2 separate regions of the Homo sapiens genome follow, and region 1 is linked to region 2. Evidence: promoter capture Hi-C in human tissues and cell types (Jung and others, 2019). All regions are on one chromosome and are shown on one strand. The core of a region is centred on a gene start or on the middle of the fragment in contact, and the rest is flanking DNA. Distances in the headings are between cores, read along the strand shown. Region 1 has its middle 8.5 kb from the start of COL13A1. Region 2 holds the start of TYSND1 (trypsin like peroxisomal matrix peptidase 1).

Evidence for each region. The method cuts DNA at HindIII sites, captures the fragments that hold promoters and counts their contacts. A contact is called where the count stands out against the background at its distance.
Region 1: a contact is called between a fragment that was not itself captured here and the fragment with the promoter of TYSND1 in region 2, in 1 of the 25 tissues and cell types used here (IMR-90 fibroblasts).

What each region holds. Positions count from the first base shown.
Region 1 is chr10:69,790,618-69,796,191 of GRCh38, reverse strand. No RefSeq gene overlaps it. Among named protein-coding and RNA genes, the nearest start is that of COL13A1, 8.5 kb to the left of the region's middle. The HindIII fragment of the contact is 5,520 bases long and covers 1-5,353 here.
Region 2 is chr10:70,144,804-70,150,153 of GRCh38, reverse strand. It overlaps TYSND1 (trypsin like peroxisomal matrix peptidase 1), which reads left to right and starts at 3,454. Exons shown (of 4, transcript NM_173555.4): 1 at 3,454-4,733. The coding sequence starts at 3,568. SAR1A (secretion associated Ras related GTPase 1A) reads left to right here. Exons shown (of 7, transcript NM_020150.5): 7 at 1-2,865. RefSeq lists silencers at 3,683-3,992, 4,323-4,552 and an enhancer at 4,143-4,192. The HindIII fragment of the contact is 18,753 bases long and covers 1-5,350 here.

The DNA.
Region 1 (5,574 bases), core at 1,344-3,843, 350 kb after region 2:
CACAGAAGATCGTGCACATTTCTGCACACACAGTCAAGCAGGCATATGTAGGGGAGTGCAAATGCTGTGGGTTACCAGGGCTGCCTCAAGGTACACATGAGTTGGCTCCAAGCCATTCCCTGTGTGTGTGTATGAGTGTTTGTGTGCGTTGGCAGAAAGGGAAGTGTGCTAAGCTCTATGTATGTAATCTACTTTGGTTGAGATGCATATACAAGAGCATGTAGGTGCTTCTGAATGGTCAGGACTCCAACCATGTCTAGGAATGATGGTAGCCATAACTAGGGACAATATATCAGTCATCTATAGCTGCATAACAAACTGCTCCAAAACTTAGTGATTTAAACAATGATTTATTATTTCTTATGATTCTGTGTATTGACAGGGCTCAGCTAAAAGGTTCTTCTGCTTCAGGTAGTATGGCTATAGTCTATCCTGAGCCAGCATGGTCAGGACCCCAACCATGTCTAAGAATGATGGTAGCCATAACTAGGGACAGTATGTCAGTCATCTCTAGCTGCATAACAAACTGCTCCAAAACTTAGTGGTTTAAACAGTGATTTATTATTTTTTATGATTATGTGTATTGACAGGGCTCAGCCAAAAGGTTCTTCTGCTCTAGGCAATATGGCTATAGTTTATCCTGAGCCAGCATGGGGGCTGGCTTTCATGAGGAGTGTTCCAAGACTGCTTATCATGCCTCTGCTTGTGCGACAATTGCTAATGTCTCATTGGCCAAAACAAGTCACATGGCCAAGCCCAGAGTCATGTGGGAAGAAACTAATCAATGTCATGAATACCAGGATGTAAGGTCCACAAATGTAAGTGTTTACCTGAGCAAGAATGAATGCCTGGTAGGGTGGGCTACTGGATCTGTCTAGAGGATTATTTGACCCTGAAAAGTAGGATTTGGGGAATGTTGTGGTTAGCAAAGCCCATGCCCAGCTGTCAACCCCAGTGCCCAGATGCTGCCCAGACCCACTGTCTTTTGTTGACTTCTTCCAGGAGCAGCTGGAGGTACTAAGCAGCCCATATCCCTCTGGACCTGGATGGTTTGAGAGTAATTCAGCAGAAATCTCCTACCTGGCACCTACCTTGCCTTATTCCAAGGCCAGGTGTAGATGGCTCTGAAACTAATTTTCTATTCACTTGGAGGCTATTTCAGGTAGTTTCAGGTTCTGGCTCCATTGTGTGCTCCCTATGTGACTTTGCAAATTATGTGGCCTCTCTGCATCTGTTTTTTAAAGCATGAACTATAAGGAGAAGAATTCCTATCTCCTAGAGTTATTGTGAGGATTGGATGCAATAGTGGATGCAAAGTGCTGAGTCAGGACTAGGTTCATGGAAGCCAACCTTGACATTGTAATAACTGTAGAGACTGGGCATGTACAATAAAAACCAAACAGGGGTTCTTGCCTCCTCTCAAGCCCTGTGTTCTGGCAGTGGAGAGGAGGGCTACTGCTTGCCCATTTGCACGGTCTAGGTCATTGATATAAATTAGTCTGCATTTATTATTGAGCCTCCTAGTGGGAGCAAAACCCAGAGTTAGGTACTCACAGAACTCACAGTCCTGAGGGGCATCTGTGGGGACTTATGTGTGCAGAAGAAAGAACAGCAGTGCCAGGCAGCATAAGCTGAAGGCCAAACAAGTAGGCAGATGATTAGTGCCTTGGGACTCAGAGAAGGGAAGTGGGTGGAGACTTAGAGTTGAAGTGAAGGTTCAGGAAGGCTTCCTGGAAGAGGTGAATTCTAAGCTGGTCCTTGGAGCATGGCAGGATCCAGACAAAGAAAGGGACTGGGAGAATAGAGCAGAAGTTCCAAGGTTATGTGGTCCATCCTTGCCTGGGTGCATCATGTGACCTCCTGAACCCCAATAACCCCAAACACCTGACCTTCCATTCTTCTTAAGTGGTATGGTCTGGTCGTGTTTCACACACATGCCAATACTTCCCATGCCACTGGCAGACATCACTAATCAACTACAGAACACCACTCCCACCATACACACACACACACACACACACACACACACACACGCACACACACACACAATCCCTTATGCCCCTCAAAGCAGAAAGCTATTATCAATCTAGTGAGATTAGTACTTGAGATGAAACCATTTTGCTGATTCAGTTTGAGTTGAAACAAAGCACCAGAAGCTTTGCTTCTTTATCTACAAATTGTGTGCCTTTTGGTAAATGCCTTAACCTCTCTGGAACCTTCTCCTGCCCAGGCAGGGGAAGATGAATTCTTACTTAGGGGAATGCTGGAAGACTCAAATGAGATCATGTGTGCAAAGCCCTAATCAAGTGCAAAATACAGAAGAGATGTTGGTGATGGTCGTGCTGCAACCAGGCATCAGAAACCACAAGCAAATGCAGCCATTAGGGCCTGATTTGCAGCTTGCTGGAGAAAGAACAATCGGTTAAGGAGTGAGAGTGAAACACAGACCCTCAGAGCTGTCAGTCCATGGAAACAAGGGCTCAGAATCTAGGCCTCAGAGTTAGTGGAAGGGCGCCCCAATTATGTGCTCGGAGAAGGACGCAGGACTTGAGCTCTCCCTGACAGGCAGGAAGAGCTGTCGGAAAGGTGGGCAACTGCAGTTTAAGAGACAGATGTTTCTGGTTGATGACCGATGGATAATGAAGAGCCCAATTAGTTTACTGATCCAGATCCCCGCTTACCAGAATTTGAGGTATGCAAGTTATAGCATTGTGTCTCTGCTCTCTTTCCTGTCCCCCAACCCTCTGCCCGCCCCCACCACTGTGGAACTCTTGGTCTTGACCACAGAACTCAGTAGTCAGATCTTATCTTAGGGGCTACTCTCCTGGTTTGAAGTGTGGGGCACCCCCACCCCTTGCCCAGAAGGACCTTTGTCAATCCTCCAAGGCTCCACTAGTATGTGGCATCTGCAGAAACTGAATACAGAGAGGTCAGAATGTGGTCCAAGGTTACCCAGCATACTAGTGGCAGAACCAGACCTGCCACTCAGGGCAGGTCTTTTCCCTGCCAGGCAACTCACAGCCCCCAGGTTCAGGCTCAGCCCATTGTCTGGACTGTGGCCAAGGGCCAGTTAATCCACAGGAGGTTTTGCACTCATGACTGAGCTCTTCTCCCTCCAGCTCTTTCCCCAGCAGTAGCTGTGAAGGCAGAACCACCTGAAACATTTGTTCCCATAAACCTCATTACAAAGGCCATTTTTTTCTTTTCTCTTTTTCCTAAAAGCTGTTGCTTTGTTAAGGTCATTTCTGAAATGGGGAGGGATGCCCTGTTTATCTTTCCCGTACACTCCACCCCCATCAGGAAACGAGGGGTCTTGCTTTCCTTGAGTGCTCTGTTCCTGACATTAGCTAGCTGCTGACAGGCAGGTCTATGGATATATTAACTTGGGCCTTTCCGAGACTTTATTAGGCTCTAGGACAACGTCTAGAAACAGATGTTTGCTCAGAGGTGGAGCAGGAGTAGGGGGAATAGAGCCAAAAGCAAGTCCCAGCCCCCGAGGGAACAGGGCAGATGTGCTGAGGGCTCTGGTAGAGCACAGGGCAGTGGGCTGGGGTGGGAACTTTGTGAGTATGAAGGAATGGCTCCAGTTCCTGGCTGGGCACAGGCAGCTATTTGCCAAGTGGCCTGGCCATCACAGCACAGGCTTGTTAGCTTCCAAGGACTCTGGGTCTGTTCAGGGCTTAGGGCCAGTGCTGAAGAGGTGCCAGATGCTGCCCCTACAGCTTCCCTCTTTGCTCCCATCCTGTGGCCAAGGACTAGAAGTCTAGCTCCTTGAACAAGTCAACTTTCTTGTTTCCAGAGACAGTAAATTCCTGCAGGGCTGGAGATTTCTTCAAACTCATATTTGTGTAGTTCAAATGTGAAGTTCAAGGCTGGGCACATTATAGTTCTCAGAAAAAGAGTGATGATGGTGGCGGTGGTGGTGGTGGTGGTTATAGTGGTGGTGATGGTGGTGGTGATGGCAGTAGTGGTGATAATGATGCTGGTGGTGGTGGTAGTGGTGGTGATGCAGTGGTGGTGGTGACGGTGGGTGGTGGTGATGGTGACGGCAGTGGCAGTGATGGTGGGTGGTGGTGGTGGTGGTGATAGTGATGATGATAGTAATGATAGTAGTGGTAATGGTGGTGGAGGCGGTGATGGCAGTAGTGGAGATAATGGTGGTGGTGATGGTGGTAGTGGTGGTGATGGTGGTGGAGATGGTGGTGACGGTGGTGGTGGTGGTGATGATAGTGATGATGATGGTAATGGTGGTAGTGATGATGGTGGTGGTAGCAGTGATGGCAACAGTGGAGATAATGGTGGTGGTGGTGATGGTGGTAGTGGTGATAATGGTGAGGTGGTGATGGCAGTGGCAGTGAGGGCGGTGGTGGTGATGGCAGCGGTGCTGGTGGTGGTGCTGGTGATGGTGGTGAATGGGATGTATGTCAACGTAAAGTAGAGTACTCACCTGTTCACCAAGTTTCCCCCAGTTGCCATGTTTTTACTAGGCACACGACCAAGCAGGGTCAATCACAGAACCACACATTTCTAGCCACTATGATTGGCCCAAAGGATGGCCAAGTGAAACCAACCAGGGACTTCCATTAGAATTTTTCAATCAGAGCTTGGGAGATAGAAATTCTTTTGCTTTTGAGTCACTATGCAGCTGTGTATAAATCCATGAAGCTCACATAGACAAGAGTTTGTCTGCAGAAGAGAATAAAATTGACTCTGGAGAGAAGTGGAGATGAGAGATGGAGAAAATGAAAGCTTTCTGTTGGTGTTTGAGTCCCTTGGGCACAGTCATCCCTCGGACAGTCTCACCCTTTCTAGTTTAGATCTGTGAACTACAATCCTTTCCATCTCTTTTCTTAAGTCAGTGGACTTGGATTTCCGTTACTTACTACCAAAGGGTTCTGTCTGGCCCTGAGCATAGGTGATCTTGAAAGTGCAAAGATGATCATGTAAGAGAGATCCTAACAGTGACAATGGCTGAGAGGAAGATGAAAAAGGTGAAGGCAACATCAGTGATGGAGGTGGTTGTGGGATGGGATGGTGTTGCTGCTAACAGAAGTGATGGTAATCATGGTTTAGATTAAATGGTGGCATTGATGGATGACATTGGTGATGATGTCACATTGGTGGTGTGATTGGTAGTGAGGATCATGAAGATGCCAAGGCTTTGCCAGCCTAGAAACACAGGCCCAAACGACCCAAGAAAGGACCACCTAGAAAGAGAGAACAAATTCTTCCAAGATGGCAGGTGCTGGTTCTTTTTTAAGCTGGGTAACTCCTAGCTAAACCTGGACCTGGAGGGGTAGAAGGACCACAGGTGGTATCCCATAGAGCTTCAGAATTATATTGAAACCTTCCGGAACAGAGAGACCTGGGGTCCCTAACCCCATCAGGTCCTTTTGAGAATTCCAAGTGCCTCTAGTCAAGAGGAGTAGCCAGGTTCAAACAACAGGCAAGATGAACTTGGGTGTAGGGGTTGCATTTTTGGTCAGTGGGAGAACAATCATAAAAAAGCACTGTGTCTTATGTCTGACCATTTACACTTCAGCTGTGTATATCTGTGAATATTTGTTCACCGTG
Region 2 (5,350 bases), core at 2,205-4,704:
TGAACAATGCCGTTTATTTGGGGAGGCAACCAAAAGTTCCCTGCATAGAGGAAGAGACATTTAGGGTGCGTGTGAGATACTTGAATTTTGCCACCAGGAGGGGGAAAAAGGCTGGGGTACTAGAAGTAATAGATTTAGTACTACTTGAGAGATTTGGAACATGCTGTGGACCCAGGGTTGTTGGTCATCTCTGCAACAGGATGGGGATGGCAGATGTTTGAGCAAAATCTATATTAACATGCTAGCAAGGACTAGTTCTAGTTTAGCTGTGTTTCACTCATTTTACACAGAATTAGAATTGGCCAGGTGTGGTGGCTCACGCTGTAATCCTAGCACTTTGGGAGGCTGAGGTGGGTGGATTGTCTGAGCTCAGGAGTTTGAGACCAGCCTGGGGAACAGGGTGAAACCCCATCACTACTAAAATACAAAAAAATTAGCTGGGCATTGTGGTACATGGAGTAGCTCCCAGCTACTCTGGAGGCTGAGGCGGAGAATCGCTTGAACTAGGAGGTGGAGATTGAAGTGAGCCGAGATCATGCCACTGTACTCCTGCCTGGGTGACAGAGCAAGACTCTCTCTAGCTCAAAAAAAAAAAAAAAAAAAAAATCAATTAAATGCTACATTTGGCAAAATGAGAAAGAAAGAATTTCCTTTACTAGGCTTGTAGGAAGACTGCTTTTACAAAAACCCAAATGAGATCATAAAACTAAAGTACTGGGACAAACAGTGGGAAACAGTGCAATGGGTTCTTTTCAACCAAGTATTAAAGTATTGGAGATATTGCCGGGCGCGGTGGCTCACGTCTGTAATCCTAGCGCTTTGGGAGGCCAAGGCGGGCGGGTCATGAGGTCAGGAGTTCAAGGCCAGCCTGACCAACATGGCAGAGCTCCGTCTCTACTAAAAATACAAAAATTAGCCAGGCACGGTGGGACGCACCTTTAATCCCAGCTACTCAGGAGGCTGAAGCAGGAGAATCGCTTGAATCGGGGAAGCGGAGGTTGCAGTGAGCCGAGATCGCGCCACTGCACTCCAGCCTGGGTGACTCCCATCTCAAAAAAAATAAAAAGTACTGGAGGTGTCCTGTTGTCCTTGTTACTGTGAAAGGATGCCATGGGTTGTATGGGCAAATGAGTTGTTTTGTTTGAGGCAGAGTGGAAAATAAGATTAGGCTCAGTCCATGAGCCTAGCACTCAACAGATCTTACTTTGGCGTTCTGGCTGTGACTTGGGACTTCTTTTTACCATGGTCTGCTGTAAACACAGAAAAACCCAATGCCTAACAGTTCATGCTGGAGTCTTGAGCGTTGAGGGAGAATCACTGGACTCGAGAGAGAAAGTTTGTTTGTTTGTTTGTTTGTTTGTTTTTTGAGTTGGTCTCACTCTGTCGCCCAGGCTGGAGTGCAGTGGTATGAACATAGGTCACTGCAGCCTTGACCTCCTGGGCTTAAGTGATCCTCCCATCTCAGCCTCCCAAGTAGCTTGGGACCACAGGGTTGCACCACCGTGCTCAGCTAGTTTTCAAAATTTTTGTAGAGTTAAGGTCTCATCATGTTGCCCAGGCTGGTCTCAAACTCCTGGGCTCAGGAAATTCTCCTACCTCAGCCTCCCAACGTGCTGGGATTCCAAGTGTGAGCCCCTGTGCTCCACCAAGAGAAAAACTCTTTGATTGCTAGGAAGTTGGGATAAAGAAATTGTGCTGTGATCAAGCCACCTTCTGTGTCATAGAACCAAAAGAAGACCGCCTGCTATGGCAAGATGGCCTAATTTTATTCCTGCCTCATACTATCATGGATAATCGTTTTCCTTTCTCTAGCAGGTTTGTGTCACTGGGAGTACTGGGAGCATTATCCTGTGTTGTGCTGGGGTTATACCAAGCAGTGTTAACTTTATTTAAAGAATTCAGGCAGAAAGATTAGAGAATTTAAGTAGCAATTGTATATGGTAAGCAATACAGTAACCTTAATAAAAATTAATGATGGCCGGGTACGGTGGCTCACGCCTGTAATCCCAGCACTTTGGGAGGCCGAGGCGGGCGGATCACAAGGTCAGGAGATCGAGACCATCCTGGCTAACACGGTGAAACCCCGTCTCTACTAAAAATACAAAAAATTAGCTGGGCGTGGTGGCAGGCGCCTGTAGTCCCAGCGACTGGGGAGGCTGAGGCAGGAGAATAGCGTGAACCCAGGAGGCGGAGTTTGCAGTGAGCGGAGATCGCACCATTGCACTCCAGCCTGGGCGACAGAGCGAGACTCCGTCTCAAAAAAATAAATAAATAAATAAAAAATAATGTGTATTTTATCAATTCAGTGATAAAGCAGACCTTTGTAAACTGTCTAGCTTGTGGTGACTGATTGAGGGTATCATGAAGCTCCGCGCCCCCCCACTCCCCGACATACTCGTTCATCCTCCTCTGTCCTAAAGCGTACTTCTTTGGAAAAGTAGAGCAGTTTATGTTAGTGTACACTAGAGATGGTAAACTATGCCTTGTGGGTCAAATCGGGCCTGCTGCCTGTGTTTGTATGGCCTGTGAGCAAAGAAAGGTTTTTACATATTTAAATGGTTGGAAAAAATATTTAAAGAATGCTATTTTTGGACACAAAAAATTGTATGAAATTAAAATTTCAATGTCTGTATCTTTTTATTGGGACACAGCCACCGCCATTCCTTTAGCTTTTGTATGCAACAGCTGCAGAGTTGACTATTTGAGACAAGTTGTATGGTCCCCCCAAACTGGAACTGTTTCCATTCTGGCCTTCTACAGAAAGTATTTGGACCCTGGCCTAGATAAATCCTGGCTGGTGGTTATGTTATGTGAAATGTGCACACTGTAAAATATAGGCCTGTATGATTAAAATTTTTGATTTCAGCTACTGTTCATAGTCGATTTAAAGGGCAATTTAATTTACAGCAAATCCAGTTTCTCGGAGATTTGTGTTGGGGCTTTGGCAGCAAAAAAAAATCCTAGGAGTAATCTTGAGAGTTCCATGCCCCCTAGTGGATTGCTATAGGGTTTACTTTTAAATTTTCAAAACACTGAATTGGCCAAGGATTTCCTTGGTCCATATTATCCCAAGGGTCAGAGGCTGAAGGTCGCCTAGACCTGGGCAGATGCTCACAGGTACTGTCGTGGCCTGGGCAAATCTAGGCACGTCAGCGCTCATTTCTATTCCCTTTCCCACATTCCAGCAAACGAGACTAGGCTTGAAGGGACCCACCCTCCTCTCCTCTGATTCCTCGTGACGCCGCACTCCTCTTACTCTCCCCGGGGCTCATCCGGGGGAATGGGGCAGATTATGTCCCACCGGTTGGACAAACTAACGAGGGCGGGGAAAGGAAAAAAAAAATCAGAATAGGAAGCCAATCAGAGCTCGGTACAAGCCCAGCCAATCGGGTCGGGTCAATTGGGGCTTAGCCAATCGGGCTCGATGAGGAAGACGTGAGTCAGAGCTTGCGCCTCTCGCTTCCAGCTGTGGGTGGCGCTAGGCAGCTTCAGCCGGACCGGGTAGGGGTCCTCGCTCGCTAGCTTGCTGTTTCTCGGAGAAGCTCCCGAGTGTCCGGCCTAGAGGCCATGAGAAGGCAGTGGGGGTCTGCCATGAGGGCGGCCGAGCAGGCGGGCTGCATGGTGAGCGCCTCCCGGGCCGGACAGCCCGAGGCGGGCCCGTGGAGCTGCAGCGGGGTAATCCTGAGCCGTAGCCCGGGCCTGGTGCTTTGCCACGGGGGCATCTTCGTCCCCTTCCTGCGAGCTGGCAGCGAAGTCCTGACCGCGGCCGGCGCCGTCTTCCTGCCTGGCGACAGTTGCAGGGACGACCTGCGCCTGCACGTGCAGTGGGCCCCAACGGCCGCGGGTCCCGGGGGCGGCGCGGAGCGGGGCCGCCCAGGGCTGTGCACGCCCCAGTGCGCGAGCCTCGAGCCCGGCCCACCTGCCCCGTCCCGCGGGCGTCCCCTGCAGCCCCGGCTTCCTGCTGAGCTGCTGCTGCTGCTGAGCTGCCCGGCCTTCTGGGCCCACTTCGCGCGCCTCTTCGGGGACGAGGCAGCGGAACAGTGGCGCTTCTCGAGCGCGGCGCGGGATGACGAAGTGTCGGAGGACGAGGAGGCGGATCAACTGAGAGCGCTGGGCTGGTTTGCGCTGCTGGGCGTGCGGCTAGGCCAGGAGGAGGTGGAGGAGGAGCGCGGGCCAGCCATGGCGGTGTCGCCTCTCGGGGCCGTGCCCAAGGGTGCGCCATTGCTGGTCTGCGGCTCCCCTTTCGGCGCCTTCTGCCCCGACATCTTTCTCAACACGCTGAGCTGCGGGGTGCTCAGCAACGTGGCCGGCCCACTGCTGCTTACCGACGCACGCTGCCTGCCCGGCACCGAGGGCGGCGGCGTGTTCACCGCGCGGCCCGCGGGGGCGCTGGTGGCGCTGGTGGTGGCGCCGCTCTGTTGGAAGGCCGGCGAATGGGTGGGCTTCACGCTGCTCTGCGCCGCCGCCCCCCTTTTCCGCGCCGCCCGCGACGCGCTTCACCGCCTGCCGCACAGCACCGCTGCCCTGGCCGCCCTTCTGCCGCCAGAGGTGGGCGTCCCGTGGGGTCTGCCCCTCCGAGACTCCGGGCCCCTGTGGGCAGCCGCGGCAGTGTTGGTGGAGTGCGGCACCGTATGGGGCTCCGGAGTGGCTGTGGCACCCCGCCTTGTAGTGACCTGTCGGCACGTGTCCCCTCGGGAAGCAGCCAGGGTCCTGGTGCGCTCCACCACCCCCAAGTAAGCCCGCAGGGCTGACGCCACTTCATCCCTTTCCAGGTCTCAGATCTGGGTCCAGCCCTAATACTCTTGAGTATTGTGCAGGCCTTTCTTGTGTCACGCGGATGCTTTGGGCGTGTAGTGGGTAGAGACCTGGAACCCTCCCCTCATCCTTTATACCCAGAACCCCTGTGGGGAGAATCTGGGGCAAGGTGTCAAGCTCGAAGCAGCTCTGGATTTGGGTACTGTGGGACACCCTGAATCCGGAACAGGGCATCTTTGAGCTCCCCTCAAAGGCTGAGTTTCTTCTGGGCAGCTTCACTGTCTGATAGCCCTGCACGCCATACCCCTCGGTTCTCTGGCCCTTTGAACAGAGATTCCCTAACCCTGCTGCTTCTCCTCTGAAAGTGATAAGGTCCCAGAGGCCCAGGATGGTGCTCTCCTGGGGTAAGGAGATGGGTATGTTAATTTTATCCATCTTTTAGTGCTTAGCCAGAGCTTCCCGTCTGAGTGAAACGTGAGTTTCTACGTAATCAGAAGGTAGGGGGGTGGCCCACGCAGCTGTACATGGTTCAGCCCAGCCTTGCAGCCCAGGCTTTTCCAAATCTCTTCCTGAATCCCCAAGCTTAGCCAGGTGT